Regions from separate parts of the Homo sapiens genome. Here region 1 is linked to region 2. The links are contacts of gene promoters, found by promoter capture Hi-C in human tissues and cell types (Jung and others, 2019). All regions are on one chromosome and are shown on one strand. Each heading gives the region's core, a stretch centred on a gene start or on the middle of the fragment in contact. The rest is flanking DNA. Distances are from core to core; before and after follow the strand shown.

Region 1 (7,613 bases), core at 4,583-7,082, 58 kb before region 2:
GAAGGTCTACTCCTTAGAAGGTCTATAACCTAGCAGTAAGACCTACATCCTTGGAGTAAGGACCACTTCCTAAAGTCTCTACCACAGGTACGAGAACTATATCTTTGGATTAAGAGAAAACTGGAGAAATACCAGCTTAAGAAAAACAAAAAACAAAACAAAACAAAAAAGCTACCCTCAACTTGATCAAGGTAACTTTCTAGAAAAAAATTAAATCCTCCTTATAGAAAAACAAATATAGTCAGAGCTTCTAAAATTTAATGACACTTTACACCCAACATTCAATAAAAAATTACCAAGTAAGCAAAGTAATAGGCCCAAATGAATGAAAATCAAGAGAAAAAAATACATGGCCAGGAACAGTAGCTTATGCATGTAATCCCATCACTTTGGGAGGCCGAGAAGGGCAGATCACTTGAAGTCAGGAGTTCAAGACCAGCCTGGCCAACATGGTGAAATTCTGTCTTTACTAAAAATACAAAAAATTAGCCGGGTGTGGTGGTGGGTGCCTGTAGTCCCAGCTACTCAGGAGGCTGAGGTGGGAGAATCACTTGAACCCAGGAGGTGGAGGCTGCAGTGAGCCAAGATCACATCACTGCACTCTAGCCTGGGTGACAGAGTGAGACTCTGTCTCAAAAAACAAAAACAAAAACAAAAACAACAGGAATAGATGCTCAAATAAATTTCAGACATGAACTTTAAAATAGCTGAGATTAATATATTCAAGAAAATAAACAAAAAGTTGAAGAATGTTACAAATAACTGCAATCTATAAAATTGAATCATATGGAAATTCTAAAACTGAGAAATACAATAACTGATATTAAGAATTCAACAAATGAATTAAATAACAGACTAGACACACAAAAAAGAAGAAGATTAATCAACTGGAAAAATAGCACAGTAGAAAAAAATACAGATTGAATCACAGAGAGGAAAAAAATAATAGAAAATGAAAAAAAGAAAAAGAAAAACACAAAGCCCATAAGAAATACATGGAAAGTGGTGAAAATGTCCAACATGCATGTAGTTGGAGTTAAAGTAAAAGAGGACAGAATGAGATTGTAGTAATAATTGAAGAAATACTGGGCTGGGCGTGGTGGCTCATGCCTGTAAGCCCAGCCTTGGGAGGCAAGGCAGGTGGATCGTTTGGACCCAGGAGTTCAAGACCAGCCTGGGCATCATGGCAAAACCCTGTGTCTAAAAAAACTACCAAAAATACACACACACACAAAATGGCTGAGCATGGTGGCTCGGGCCTGTGGTCCCAGCTGCTTAGGAGGCTGAGGTGGGAGAATCGCCTGAGCCCAGGAAGTAGAGGCTGCAATGAGCCGAGATCACACCACTGCACTCCAGCCTGGGCAACAGAGTGAGACCCTGTCTCAAAAAAACAAAACAAAAACAAACAAATAAAAAAAGAAAGAAAGAAAGGAAAGAAAGACATAATAAATAAATAAACATTGGCTGAGAACTTTTCAAAAATGAACAAAGACATAAAGCCACATATTCAAGAAGCTTTACAGACCTTAAGCCAGGTGAATAAAAAAGAAAATCACACCTAGAAAAGTCATAGTAAAACCACTGAACAACCAAACACAGATAGAAGATCTTACAAACCAGAGAATAACAGTCTACCTTAAAACAAACAAACAAACAAACAAACAAACAAACAAACAAGATGTACAGTTGATGTTATGAAATAAATAATGGAAGTCAGAAGACAATGGAATTAAATCTTTAAAGTGCCGAAAGAAAATAGCTGCCAACCAAAAATTCTACATTCAGTAAAAATGTGCTTCAAAATGAAGGTAAAATACAGGTGTCTTAAGAAAAACAAAAACTGAGAAGATTTAAGCAGACCTGAACTAAATAAAATACTTAAGGTGAGCTCATTAGACAGATACCAATAGAAGAACAATGATGAAGGAAGAAAAGAAGAACCATGAAAAGAGTAAACAGGTAGATAATCTAGAATAATATTGAACATAATATCATGTACGATTTAAATCTATCTAGGCCCCAGCACAGTGGCTCACACCTGTAATCCTAGCATTTTGGGAGGCTGAGGTAGGAGGATTGCCTGAGCCCCTGAGTTTGAGGCCAGCCTGGACAACATAGTGAGACCCCATGTCTGAAAAAAAAATACACATAAAAATTAGCTGGGTGTGGTAGTGCACGCCTGTAGTCCCAGGTACTTGGGAGAATCACTTGAGCCCAGGAGGTTGAGGCTGCAGTGAGCTCTGACTGTACCATTACATTCCAGCCTGGGCAACAGAACAAGACCCCTTCTCAAGAAAATTATATTTAGAATTAAAAAAATATTATCAACAATAGCACTAAATATGGGAAGGAGGTAAACAAAGTTAAAGTGTTTTAGGTTCTTGCATTGCCCAGGACACGGCAATAGTAAAAATTTAGTGAAGACTGGCTGGGTGCAGTGGCTCACACCTGTAATCCCAGCACTTTGGGAGGCCGAGGTGGGCAGATCACGAGGTCGGGAGATTGAGACCATCCTGGCTAACATGGTGAAACCCCGTCTCTACTAAAAAAAAAATACAAAAAAATAGTTGGGCATAGTGGCACACTCCTGTAGTCCCAGCTACTTGGGAGGCTGAGGCGGGAGAATCACTTGAACCTAGGGGGCGGAGGTTGCTGTGAGCTGAGATCGTGCCACTGCACTCCAGCTTGGGCAACAGAGAGAGACTCTGTCTCAAAAAAAAGAAAAAAAAATTTAGTGAAGACTGTAATCAGTCAAGGGTGTATATCATAATCTCTGGCATAAGCACTAGAGTGCAATCACTCACTGGCTAAATGGAACTAAGGACTCTATTACTGTGGCAGGTAGAGTACTGACAGTCCCAGGCATGTTGCAGCAGTGCAATTAATAAGACTTTCACTTGTGGTGAATTGGGGAAGAATACAGGTGGATGGGGATTGTGGTGGCCAACAAAATTTATGGCTCAGATTGCTTTCAAGAGAGTTGGCTGAGAGGAACAGAGCTGACTGATATCCATAGCTGCTGCCCCTCTGGGTCCATCATCATGTTTGCACCAACGCTATGCTTCCCTGGAGCTGCTCTTAGCCAATGACTGAGTACAGCAGTAGTACTAGTGTTGGCCCAGTCCTGCCTGACAAGGGACTCCTCTAATAGGTGACTGGCTCAGGAACTCTCCATCAGCCTGACCAAAACTTTCTCAGAGTTGTGTTGAAGTTTGAGGCTATTTCTACCCAATCTTCCTTTGCCCTTTCCTTTCACAGGTGTCAGACCTGTATCAGAGCCTGAAGGCTTTCCCTGCCTCCTCCTGCTCCCTTCCCTTTACCCTTCATAAGTATGTCCTTCAATAAATCTTTTGTACATGTAATCCCATCTCAGTGTCTGCTTCTTGGAGGATCTGAACTGATACAAAGATGCACTAGACGGTGTAATGTTTCTGGCATTTGAGGAGAAATAGTAACTATAAGGACTATGGAACTGGGGTGGCTATCACTAAACTCCACTGATGGTTGAAGAGATAAAATAACAGGCTCAAATCCATTAATTTGTAATTTATTTATTTATTTTTTTTGAGATGGAGTCTCGCTCTGTCACCCAGGCTGGAGTCCAGTGGCATGATCTCGGCTCACTGCAAGCTCTGCCTCCGGGGTTCACGCCATTCTCCTGCCTCAGCCTCCCGAGTGGCTGGGACTACAGGTGCCCGCCACCACGCCCGGATAATTTTTTGCATTTTTAGTAAATACAGGGTTTCACCGTGTTAGCCAAGATGGTCTCGATCTCCTGACCTCGTGATCCACCCGCCTCGGCCTCCCAAAGTGCTGGGATTACAGGCGTGAGCCACCATGCCTAGCCTAATTTGTAATTTAAAGCAAAGTGATCAAGTTAGAGAACCTCCTTAAGGGCTTTAAAGAAACTCTCATTTCCCCTGGCTAAAGTGCAGAGGGAGCTGAAAACCAGGCACAGGACTAATTTTAAGACTGGCAAAACTCCAGAGAAAGTTGAATTCTTAGTCTAGGCAAATATTCTATGCCAAAGTCAGGGCCCTGACAGAGAAGAAAAAGGGTGCTGAGTCTGGGATGGGGGTATCTGGATAGACCCACTTGAGAACCTTGAATCCCCAGATTATCCTGTATCCTCTGGGCAGTGGCAAATGGCTCAGCTTGTTGGTCAAGGCCCTGGAAGATGCAAGACAGCAAGGACAAGGAGGTCTAGGAAAGAGGCATGTGTTTGAACCTATGGGAGTAGGCACTAAGTATAATGATCTTTTCATTACATGGAAACCGGAAAATGTCCACTGCAGAAGATGCACTGAACAACCAAGTGGAAAGGATGATTTGGCCAGCAGATGTCAGCCAGCCTCTGACATTGGCCCACACAGTGCTTAAACAATGGACTCACAAACAGAATGGCTTTGTTGGTAGAGATGGAAGTTACGTATGAGCCAAATAGCATGGGCTCTCTCTCATCAATGCTCATCTAGCTGCTGCCAATATCAAACGTCTGACCTGCCAGCAACAGAGACCATTCCTGAGCTCTGGGTAAGGAATCATCCCTTGAGGAAACCAACCCCCTATTTTGTGGCAATTTAATAACATCGGACCCTTTCTGCCCTGAAAAAGGTGACATTTCATCCTTAATGGGACTGATCCATATTCTGAGTATAGGTTTGCCTTTCTTGCCCATTGTACTTCAGCCAGCACTACTATCCAAGGGCTAAGAGCATTCAGTCTACTGATGTGGAATCTCACATAATATCACCTCAAACCAAGGGACACACTTTACAGCAAAGGAAGTATGATAGCATTCGTATGACCATATAATTCAGTAATTTTACCACATACTACACTATCTGGAAAGCTGATGGCCTGACAGAATAGTGGAACAGTGTCTTAAACGTAAGGCCCCAGTTGGAACTGGATGGCCTATGAAAATGAGTTCTACCTTTAGGATGGGGTGTACACCTTAAACCGATGCCCATGATATGGTGCTATGTTCCCGATAGAAAGCATAGGTCTCAGAACCATGAGATGAAAGTATAGGTGTCACCACGAACCATGATCCCCAGTGATCCACTTTAGGGAATTATGCTTCCCTTCCAGACAACTGTAGGCTCTGTGGGTATAGATACTCTGGTTGCCAGAGATATTCTGATGGCATGCTTCCATCAGAAGGCACATTAAGAGGCCCTTGACACTTAATGTTCTGACTACCATCTGGTCACTTGAGCTTCTCATGTCAATAGATCAGCAGGCAAAGAAAGCAGGGTATCATAAGGCTATATAGATGCTGCTATATAACAGGGACAGAAAGAAATATATTTAGGACTCAGATGATCCATTAGGGCATATCTTGGTACTCCCATGCCCAGTTTTAACTGTAAATGGGGAAGTATAGCAGCCATGGCCTGGTAAGGGCATGATTACTAGAGTCTCACACTTCTCAAGGATGAGGAACTGGGTCATCCCACCAAGTAAGTCATCTAAACCAGAGGAGGTACTAGCTGAGGTGAGGGAACTCTAGAATGGATAGTAAAGGAAGGAGATGTTGAATATCAGTTATGTCCTTGGAACCAAATGTAGCAATGAGAGTTTCCATTTGTCCCACTAATCTTTCTCCTATAAGTTTTCCTAGAAATTGCGACCAACTAGAATCCTATAGAAGCTATAGCTGGGTGGAGTAAATTTAATGTGACAAACAAGTAGATCCTACTAGTGCAAGGGGTGAACTGTAGTAGATGTTGCTGGTGCCCCACTCAGACCTCATTTGCAAACTGTTATGAATGTTGACTGCTAAATAGCTCATAGTTACCCCTTTCTCCAGAGAGTGCCCTCAGCGAAATGGGAGGTGTCTCACCTAAGAGGTTACACTTGACCACAGCCAAATGACTGACTGCCATGGGGTACAAAAGGCCAGCCCCCTTGCATCAAGATGGAATCAACTCCAGTGCAATTTGTTCCAAAGTTGATCATGGGATCAGAATGAAGCCAGCTCCAGTTGAGACCATGTCCTTTTCTTGCTTGGCTTTTTTCTGCTGCCTCATCTGCTTCCCTCACTCCCCTCCTTCTGAAGGTACTCCCTCAATAAATCACTAGCACAAAGAATTCCCTTCTCGAGCTCTGCTTCTAGGGACCCAACTTAAGAAAAAAATATGAAGCAAAAACTGATGGAACTAAAAAAAGCAACAAAGCCATAATTATAGTTAGAGATTTTTAACACACTTCTCTCAGTAACTGATGGAACAGGCAGACAAAAAATCAACAGGGATATGGAAGATGTGAATATCATGGCTAACATACTGACTGAATTGACATATTTAGAATACTATTCCCAACAACTGCAGAATATACATTCTCTTCACTGCACATGAAACAATTACCAAAACAGACCGTATGCTGGGCCATAATGCAAGACTACAAATTTCACAGGACTGAAATCAGAGTGTGCTCTCTGGTCACAATGGAAATAACCTGGAAATTCATAATAGAAAGGTAACTAGAAAAATCCCCCAAATATTGGATTTTAAGCCATGACCAAAAGGTCAAAGAAATCACAATAGAAATTAGAAGATATTTTGAAGTAAACAATAATGCAGTTACTACTATCAGTTTTAAAGTTAGTGCTGTTAGAATCCATGTTGATTCACAGTAAATTTTCAGTCTTAAGTTCCCTAAAAGCAAATAATATTCATCAGCATGAGACAGTTCATATTGCCAGTTAAAAGGAAACACAACTGGTTGAAATTCCACTTACTTCTACCAGATTATTGCTAGCTGGTAAACCAGCACCCAGATGAAAGTTTCCTCGTTGGTGAAAGAAAAAAAAAAGCCAAATGAAGGAAACCCTGAGGAACTGGCATCCACAATGAGAACAACTTTGCTGTGGGACTACTTTGGGTTTAACTTTTTTCAGACAACCAAGGCACAAACACATAAGGAATAAGCCTGGAGGCAGACTTCCACACAGCACTTCCCTGGATATTTCTTTCCAAAGCTTCTTGGAAGTGGCTGCTTAGAAATTTCTGCCCAGCAGGCCATGATAAAAAAATATTTTACAGTCACTCTCTTGGTATGATAATTTTACTCATATTAACTAACTAACCAAAAGAAAAAACCTACTTGGAATTCAAGTTTTTCTATTAATAACCCCGAAGTCAGCACACACACAAAAGCCAGTGCTTACTGCTACATTAAAAATAAATGAATCAACTTATATGTCATGTCTGTAATTAATCAGAGAAAAGTAATACTTTTATCATTTTTCCAGTAAAAACAATGACTTCAGTATAAAGCTGTAACCCATAAACCTCCTGGCATTTGTATTTATAGTAGCCCAAGATAATACTGTATTACCAGTTGTTGTTGAATATTTTCATGACGTTGCTTAAGAAGTTCTTCAGTCCTCTGCAAAAGACCGAATTCAGCTTTAAGTTCAGCTATTATCTGATGCTTCTTTTTGAAAACTGTACTCTTGCTTCGAAGTTTATTGACATATCGTTTGAACTGTAAAAAAAACACAATATGTAATCTAATGAGTAGAAAAGTAGTAGCTAAATATCATACATCTGTATAAACTCAATATATTCACATTTTTTCTTCTCTACTTCCCAACATGTCACACG
Region 2 (6,640 bases), core at 3,948-6,447:
TCCCAATTTGCCTGGGATAGTGTCAATTTAAACCATTTGTCTTGGTGTTTAAATGTTATGATAGTCTGTTTCTCTCAAATTTGGATAAAAAACTATGTAGTCACCTTACTGATGAACAAAGTGCTGTGCAGACTTAACCCAGGATTCTATTTACCCACAATTGCTAAGTAATAAATTATTCTAAAATCTTAGTATCAGGTTTTTTTTTTTTCTATTCACATACTCCTATCACTAAAACAGTATTTGTGTGCAAAAGCCATTATCTTGAGATGTGGCCATAGTTGAACATTAGCTGATACAGTTTTATCTTCTTGTGCCACTTGGAACTACAAAGACAGCAAATAAAAAAAGAGTAACATGTATTTGAATATATACACCTTGAAATCCATTACAGTTTCAATGTACCATTTATGTATTGTTTACCTGTTTATTGGTGTCAGCCACAGTTTCATCCTGAAGAAACTCACTTGGTACCTCAAGTTTTATTAAAAAACGAGCTAAATATGCTCTTTTCTTCAGTTCATTAGTCCTCTGAAGAAGCCAGTGGAGCACTGGGTAAATTACAGGTTTACTTCCAATCACCAAACCCTGACGAAAAGTACTCCTAAGAGAGAAACACACATACACAAACACACACGCACTTAACGGTAAACTTTGAAGAGAGACAGCATTTTCTCAAAATCTGATTTACAATGTCCAAATTGCTTTCTGTAACTTTTTAAAAAAGATAAACCCAAGGAATCTTTTTTTTTTTTTTTTTTTTTTTTGAGACAGGGTCTCACTTTATTGCCCAGGCTTGAGCACAACGCAGCTCACCAAAGCCTTAACCTCCTGGCTCAGGTGAACCTCCCACCTTAGCCTCCCAAGTAGCTGGGACTAGAGGCACCAACCACCATGCCCAGCTGATTTTTTGTTGTTGTATTTTTTGTAGAGGCAGCGTTTCGCCATGTTGCCCTGGCTGGTCTCAAACTCCTGAGCTCAAGTGATCCTCTCACCTTGGCATCTCAAAGTGCTAGGATTACAGGTGTGAGCTACCATGCCTGGCCCCAAGGCTATTCTAAAGTCAGTCTGTACATTAGTTAGAAAATTAGAAAAATTTGGCCCTCAATATATCATTGGCATATCCAAGGAAGTTGTGTTTAAGCTGTTTTTATCTAGGATGGCAGATAAAGGATAAAATGGTATAGTGGATTTACCAGACAGTTTGATTAAGGCAAAGAACTGACCCTCTTAAGACTTCTGAGTTTGTTTATAGAAGGTTTAAGATTATTTTGAAACTCAGTGATGTTCTCAGGCCATCAAATGAGGGAAACCAGGTATTACCTACAAAGATTGATTGCAGTATATGAAGGTTTGGATATTAAAGCATAATTTTAAAAACTCAATACGTGATCAGATTCTTACATATCTGTGGCATTTCCTGAAGGTTTGTACTTAAGAATACCAAGAAGGCTCAACATTCGTTTGGCTGTCTGCTCTGGCATCTCCTCTCTGATATCCACAAGTTGCTAACAAAGAAATTGAAAAAAACATGTTATTGTTGTATATGTAACAAAGGACAATATTTAAACTCACTGACAAAATTGTTCTGCTAGAGCTTAACAGCACAATGGTCTCTTCATAAAACAGATTAAGGATGGAGGCCCCCAGATTCCAAGTGAGGGTACACCCAAGTCAGATCAAGATTCACATTAAGAATGTTAAGCTTCAAAAAAAGTATCCAGTGGAATGGACCAGTGTATGAGAGACATGAACTAACTTGCAATACAATAAAACCTTTTGTAAAAGAATTTTCATTCCCTAACCAAACCTATTTATGTCTGGAAGTGGATAAATAATTTTGAAATAAGGTACCAATAGATAATTTATTTTTGAGCTAGCAGAGAAATGTTATGCATTATTTACTATTACTTTACAGACATGGAAAATAAAGCTCAGAGAGGTTAAATAATGTGCCCAAGACTCACAGCTATTTAGAGGGAGAAATTGGCTTTCTGCTACCCATCAAAAAGAAAGAGAAAACTCTTACCTTTGGGTCAATCTCAGCCAGAACATCACTGAGAACTTGTAATAGTTGCATTGGCTCCAAGGAATCAAACGTGATTAAATTATAGTTCTTCCTAAAGGGCTCCTTATTGAGACTGTCCATAATGAATTTAATTTGATCACTCATAATTAGGTCTTATAATTTTAACTAAAGAGTAAAAATAGAAAAAAAAATCCTTAATACTGGCAACAAAAGTCCTGGGTAAAAACCAGAATTAAGTTCATACAACGTAGGCATGAAAAGTATAATTTTACATGGCATACAAAATGCTGTGAAAAGGGTTATTTTGTTGAAAGAAATCCAAGTATAATGGCTTTACTATGAAAACTGCAGTATATACTGTTAATTTTAACATCAAATGCTTTGTATATGCATCTGGTGTAACAGTAATCATCTGAGTTAATGTGGACAAATGAATAATAAATCCTCCCTACATTAACATCTCTCCCATACCGGTGCATAATTTCTACCCAGGAATTAAACATGCTCCTAAATTTTAGGAGCCTGACTGCAAGCCTAACAGATGTTTCTCCCAAATCTCCCAAAAAACATTGAGAGATTTTTTACTTTAAAATCTGTATTTCCAGTTTCTCTTGAAAATCAGATCTGGCAACCGTGGGCCCACATTTGTGCATGCCCACAACCAACTGCATCTGAGTAGAGGCTGCACACTTCAAGTACCCTTCTTCCATTTCTGTTATTGGTGTGGCCGGTAGGCATCCACTCTGCCTTCATTTCCTTTGGCCTTCAATGAGGCCACAGCCTCTTGTTCTCTGGTCTCCACCTCTCCCCATTCCAAATCATCTGTATGCTCCTTATTGCGCACAAAATACAGCTCAAACTTCTTGGATTTCCAGACTCTTTATGATCTGGCACAACTTATCCCTTTCCAACTTTATTTCCAAATTGTCATCTTTCTACCCCTTCAAACTTCAGCCTATTGAAACAGTCACTGCTCCTTAGTTTTTCTATCACTCTGCCTTTAGTTAATGTTGCTTTCTCTGCCTAAAATGACTGCGCACCCCTCCTTCATCTCAAGAGGCACAAACCCCCCCAACCATCTTTCAAGCCATGCCCACCAAACGCCAGCTCCCCCAGGAAACCTTTCTCAAGCTATCCTCCAGGTTCTGCAGCAGTGCCAACACCTGTCCTTCATAGCTGACCACACTTTATCTGTGCTTCTCTCCTAGCACTACTTTTGATCTTGTGCTTTTTTTTTTTTTTTTTTTGAGACGGAGTCTCGCTCTGTCGCCCAGGCTGGAGTGCAGTGGCGCGATCTTGGCTCACTGCAAGCTCCGCCTCCCAGGTTCAAGCCATTCTCCTCCCTCAGCCTCCCAAGTAGCTGGGACTACAGGCGCCTGCCAGCACGCCTGGCTAATTTTTTGTATTTTTAGTAGAGACGGGGTTTCACCGTGTTAGCCAGGATGGTCTGGATCTCCTGACCTCGTGATCCGCCCACCTTGGCCTCCCAAAGTGCTGGAATTACAGGCGTGAGCCACCGCGCCTGGCCGATCTTGTGCTAGTTCTTTAGGTACGCATCTTCTCTTCCCTGCTAAACTGTAAATTCCGTATCTGTGTCCAATTCCATTTTTGAACATCCATTGTGTCTAAAACAGTGATTCCTTCCACTAGATTGAATGAACTTGTTCACAGGCACAAGTACAACATAAGCCTAAATCTAAAGGAAATCAGGCTGGCAGTGAGAAAGATCATAACTTTTTAAAAAACTGAATATCTGATTTATTAACTGCTGAAACAGCTTTACCTAGGTAAATGCTTTAAGGATTAAAAATGAATTAAGCAATGAGTTGCTGCCGGGAGCTGTCGTTCTCTCCTGTAATCCCAGTACTTTGGGAGGCCGAGGCAGGCAGATCACTTGAGGTCAGGAGTTCGAGGCCAGCCTGGCCAACATGGTGAAACCCGGTCTCTACTAAAAATACAAAAATTAGCCAGGTGTGGTGGCGGGCGCCGGTAGTCCCAGCTACTTGGGAGGCTGAGGCAGGAGAATTGCTTGAACCCGGGAGGCGGAGGTTGCAGTGAGCCGAGATCGCGCCACTGCACTCCAGCCTGGGGGACAGAGAGAGACTCCGTCTCAACAGAAAAAATAAAATAAAAAAGATAATTTCTCCACAATGATGAAAAATTACGCACAAATAATTATTATTGCTAAGAAATAAGTCAAAAGAGGATAGGAAGGATAACCACCATGGCTTATAATAAATCTGAGGTTTCCTTTAAGCTATAAAAGGAAAACCTTTACGTAAGTTTTTTTTTAAAATCCATATTGGAAGTGCAAGTTTTCCATTGTTTAAAGTATTTTAAGTAAAAGTCCACGTCATAACCTTTGCGTGCAGAAATATGTATTTCATTTTAAATGATTTAGAAATTATCTATAGGTCTACTCTTTTTTCCCTTAAAAAAAAATCTGGATAAACTAGTACAACGTTTCCAGGAAGGCAAAATAAACCAGTTGGGTTCCCCCCAAGTCGCCCACCAGCCTGCAAAAATGGTCACTCGATAAGGACAAAGATGTACTGAACAGGAAGGCTGTCTGTGCCCAGCGGGCTCTGCGCTCTAAAATTAGCAAAAGCAATTACTGTCCCTCTTCTAGCGCGAAGTCGCCGCGCTAATTCCCAAGCACTCACCCACAAACGAGTCGCAGGAGGCGGGGAACAATGAAAACCAGGACGTGCGTGTTCTCTGGCACAATTTGGGAGAGAAACCGTGCTGCCTGGGTCCCAGGCTGGCACGAGCATCGACCCGCAGCCTCCTGGGAGTACCAGAAATAGTGTCCCCCTCCCCGGGCTCGGGACAGGGGACAGGGGACCCCACACCCGACCGGGCCTCTAGCGGGGGCTGCCCTGGGCCCCTCGACAGTTCATCCCTCCAGGGAGCGGCCTGGATCCGCTCGAATCCCAGAAGGGGCCCGATTCCCCTATCCGGGGGCTTAACCGCGACGACCCCTTCCACTTGCGAGGTGCTGCATCAGGACCGAGAGAGGACGGGAGCTCTCTCCTATTTCGGGGTTCAGAGGAGCTTCCGACCGCGAGTTGGCGAGGTTACCTCAAATTCTCCTCACGAAACCGTTTCCCCACCCCCCAGGAGGCGCCCGGGCTCTAGACCGCTCCCAGAGTCGAGCTCCTTGGCAACGGTTGCTAGGCCGTAGAGTTACGTCACTTCCGGGCGAGCGGCCGCTCTCCCGCGCGCGCGCGCACGAGCTGGGGGGCGGGGCCGGGCCAGGGCGGGGAGGACGGGCGCGGGGCGGAGCGGACGGGGCGGGGCGGGGCGGAGCGGACGGGACGGGGCGGGACGGGGCGGGGCGGACGGGGCGGACGGGAGCCGGGCTTACTTGCAAAGCGGGCCCACGTGCTGAGCCACTGCAGACAGCCGAGGGCATTTGGGACTGTTACTCCGACCTAGACGCGCTACAATAAGCTTCCCGAAAGTCCTGCACTTCGCAGTTTACAAAATACTCTCTGCATGATTAACCTATGTTAAATGCGTGTGATGTTTCATTCATTCATTCATTCATGCATGCATGCATGCATTCATGCGCCAAACGTGGGTGATGATTTTTGTTTGTTTTTGAGGCAGGGCTGGGTGGTAGGGGGGTTGGGATGAGCAAGCATTTGGCCAGTGCTTCAAATTTAGGTTTTTGACATAAGTATCTCCAAATTAGGTTATGCATAGGAACAATTGTAGTGAGGCTCTGGCAGGATTAAAAGAAGACACATTCATCATAGAGATTTCAGCTTCTGTGTCACATTACTGGGCCACATTGCCTGTACTGGGAATTAAATTTTTTTAAACCCAATACGTTTTGAGTATGCTGAGAGCCTGAAAGGGGGTGTGGGAGAACTAAGTGTCCTAATGTTCCTTTGGCTTCTGAGTGGGCTCTCTTTAGGTGACTGCAGAAATAAATTAAATCCTCCTTGTGGTCTTCATGGAGTTCACATCCCACGCAGGACGCAGGGAGATCTTTGTGCCCAGTCACTGATGAGGTTTAAAAGTCTACTGGAATTTGCACTAGCTGGTTTGTGGGAGACCTTAGTTGGCAAATGGTATTTTGAACCAACCTCTATTAGACTAGAGACCACGATACTTAGTGATATCAGCTGGCAATGAAAGAAAGAGAAGGAAAAAAAATCAAATTATTGATACCTTGAAAACTTAGTTGCCTGCTCAAACAGCATAGGAGAAACCAACTATAGCTTTAGCATCAGACTTACCACAACAAAAAATAACAGATTACGTATTAGGCATTTCCTATATGCCCTGTACTGTACAGGCTGCTGGAAATGCAGAAGGGCAGGACTTACCTGGCCCCTGCCCTGATGGAGCTGACAGTCTAGTGCCGGCAGAGATTATTAAAGGGGCAACACCAATACAATTGAGATAAATGCTGTAACAAGAGAAGCCAATGATTAGGAGCCCAGATTAAGGGCCTCAAGTTTATTTGGGGAGGGTGGTGCCAAAGGGGCCATACCATCAGGAAAGTTTCTGTCAAATGGAGTGATGTTTAAGGATCAGTAAAAATTAGGCCTGGCACCGTGGCTCACGCCTGTAATCTCAGCACTTTGAGAGACCAAGGCA

What was found. Contacts are between HindIII fragments. The study calls those that stand out against the background at their distance.
Region 1: a fragment that was not itself captured here is called in contact with the fragment with the promoter of IFT81 in region 2 in 1 of the 25 tissues and cell types used here (aorta).

The regions. Positions count from the first base shown.
Region 1 is chr12:110,180,303-110,187,915 of GRCh38, reverse strand. It overlaps IFT81 (intraflagellar transport 81), which reads right to left. Exons shown (of 19, transcript NM_014055.4): 12 at 7,345-7,494. Among named protein-coding and RNA genes, the nearest start is that of IFT81, 60 kb to the right of the region's middle. RefSeq lists a silencer at 1,555-1,755. The HindIII fragment of the contact is 3,163 bases long and covers 4,251-7,413 here.
Region 2 is chr12:110,122,914-110,129,553 of GRCh38, reverse strand. IFT81 (intraflagellar transport 81) reads right to left here and starts at 5,197. Exons shown (of 19, transcript NM_014055.4): 1 at 4,693-5,197; 2 at 2,030-2,194; 3 at 1,405-1,508; 4 at 424-604. The coding sequence starts at 2,173. RefSeq lists a silencer at 5,114-5,383. The HindIII fragment of the contact is 7,034 bases long and covers 53-6,640 here.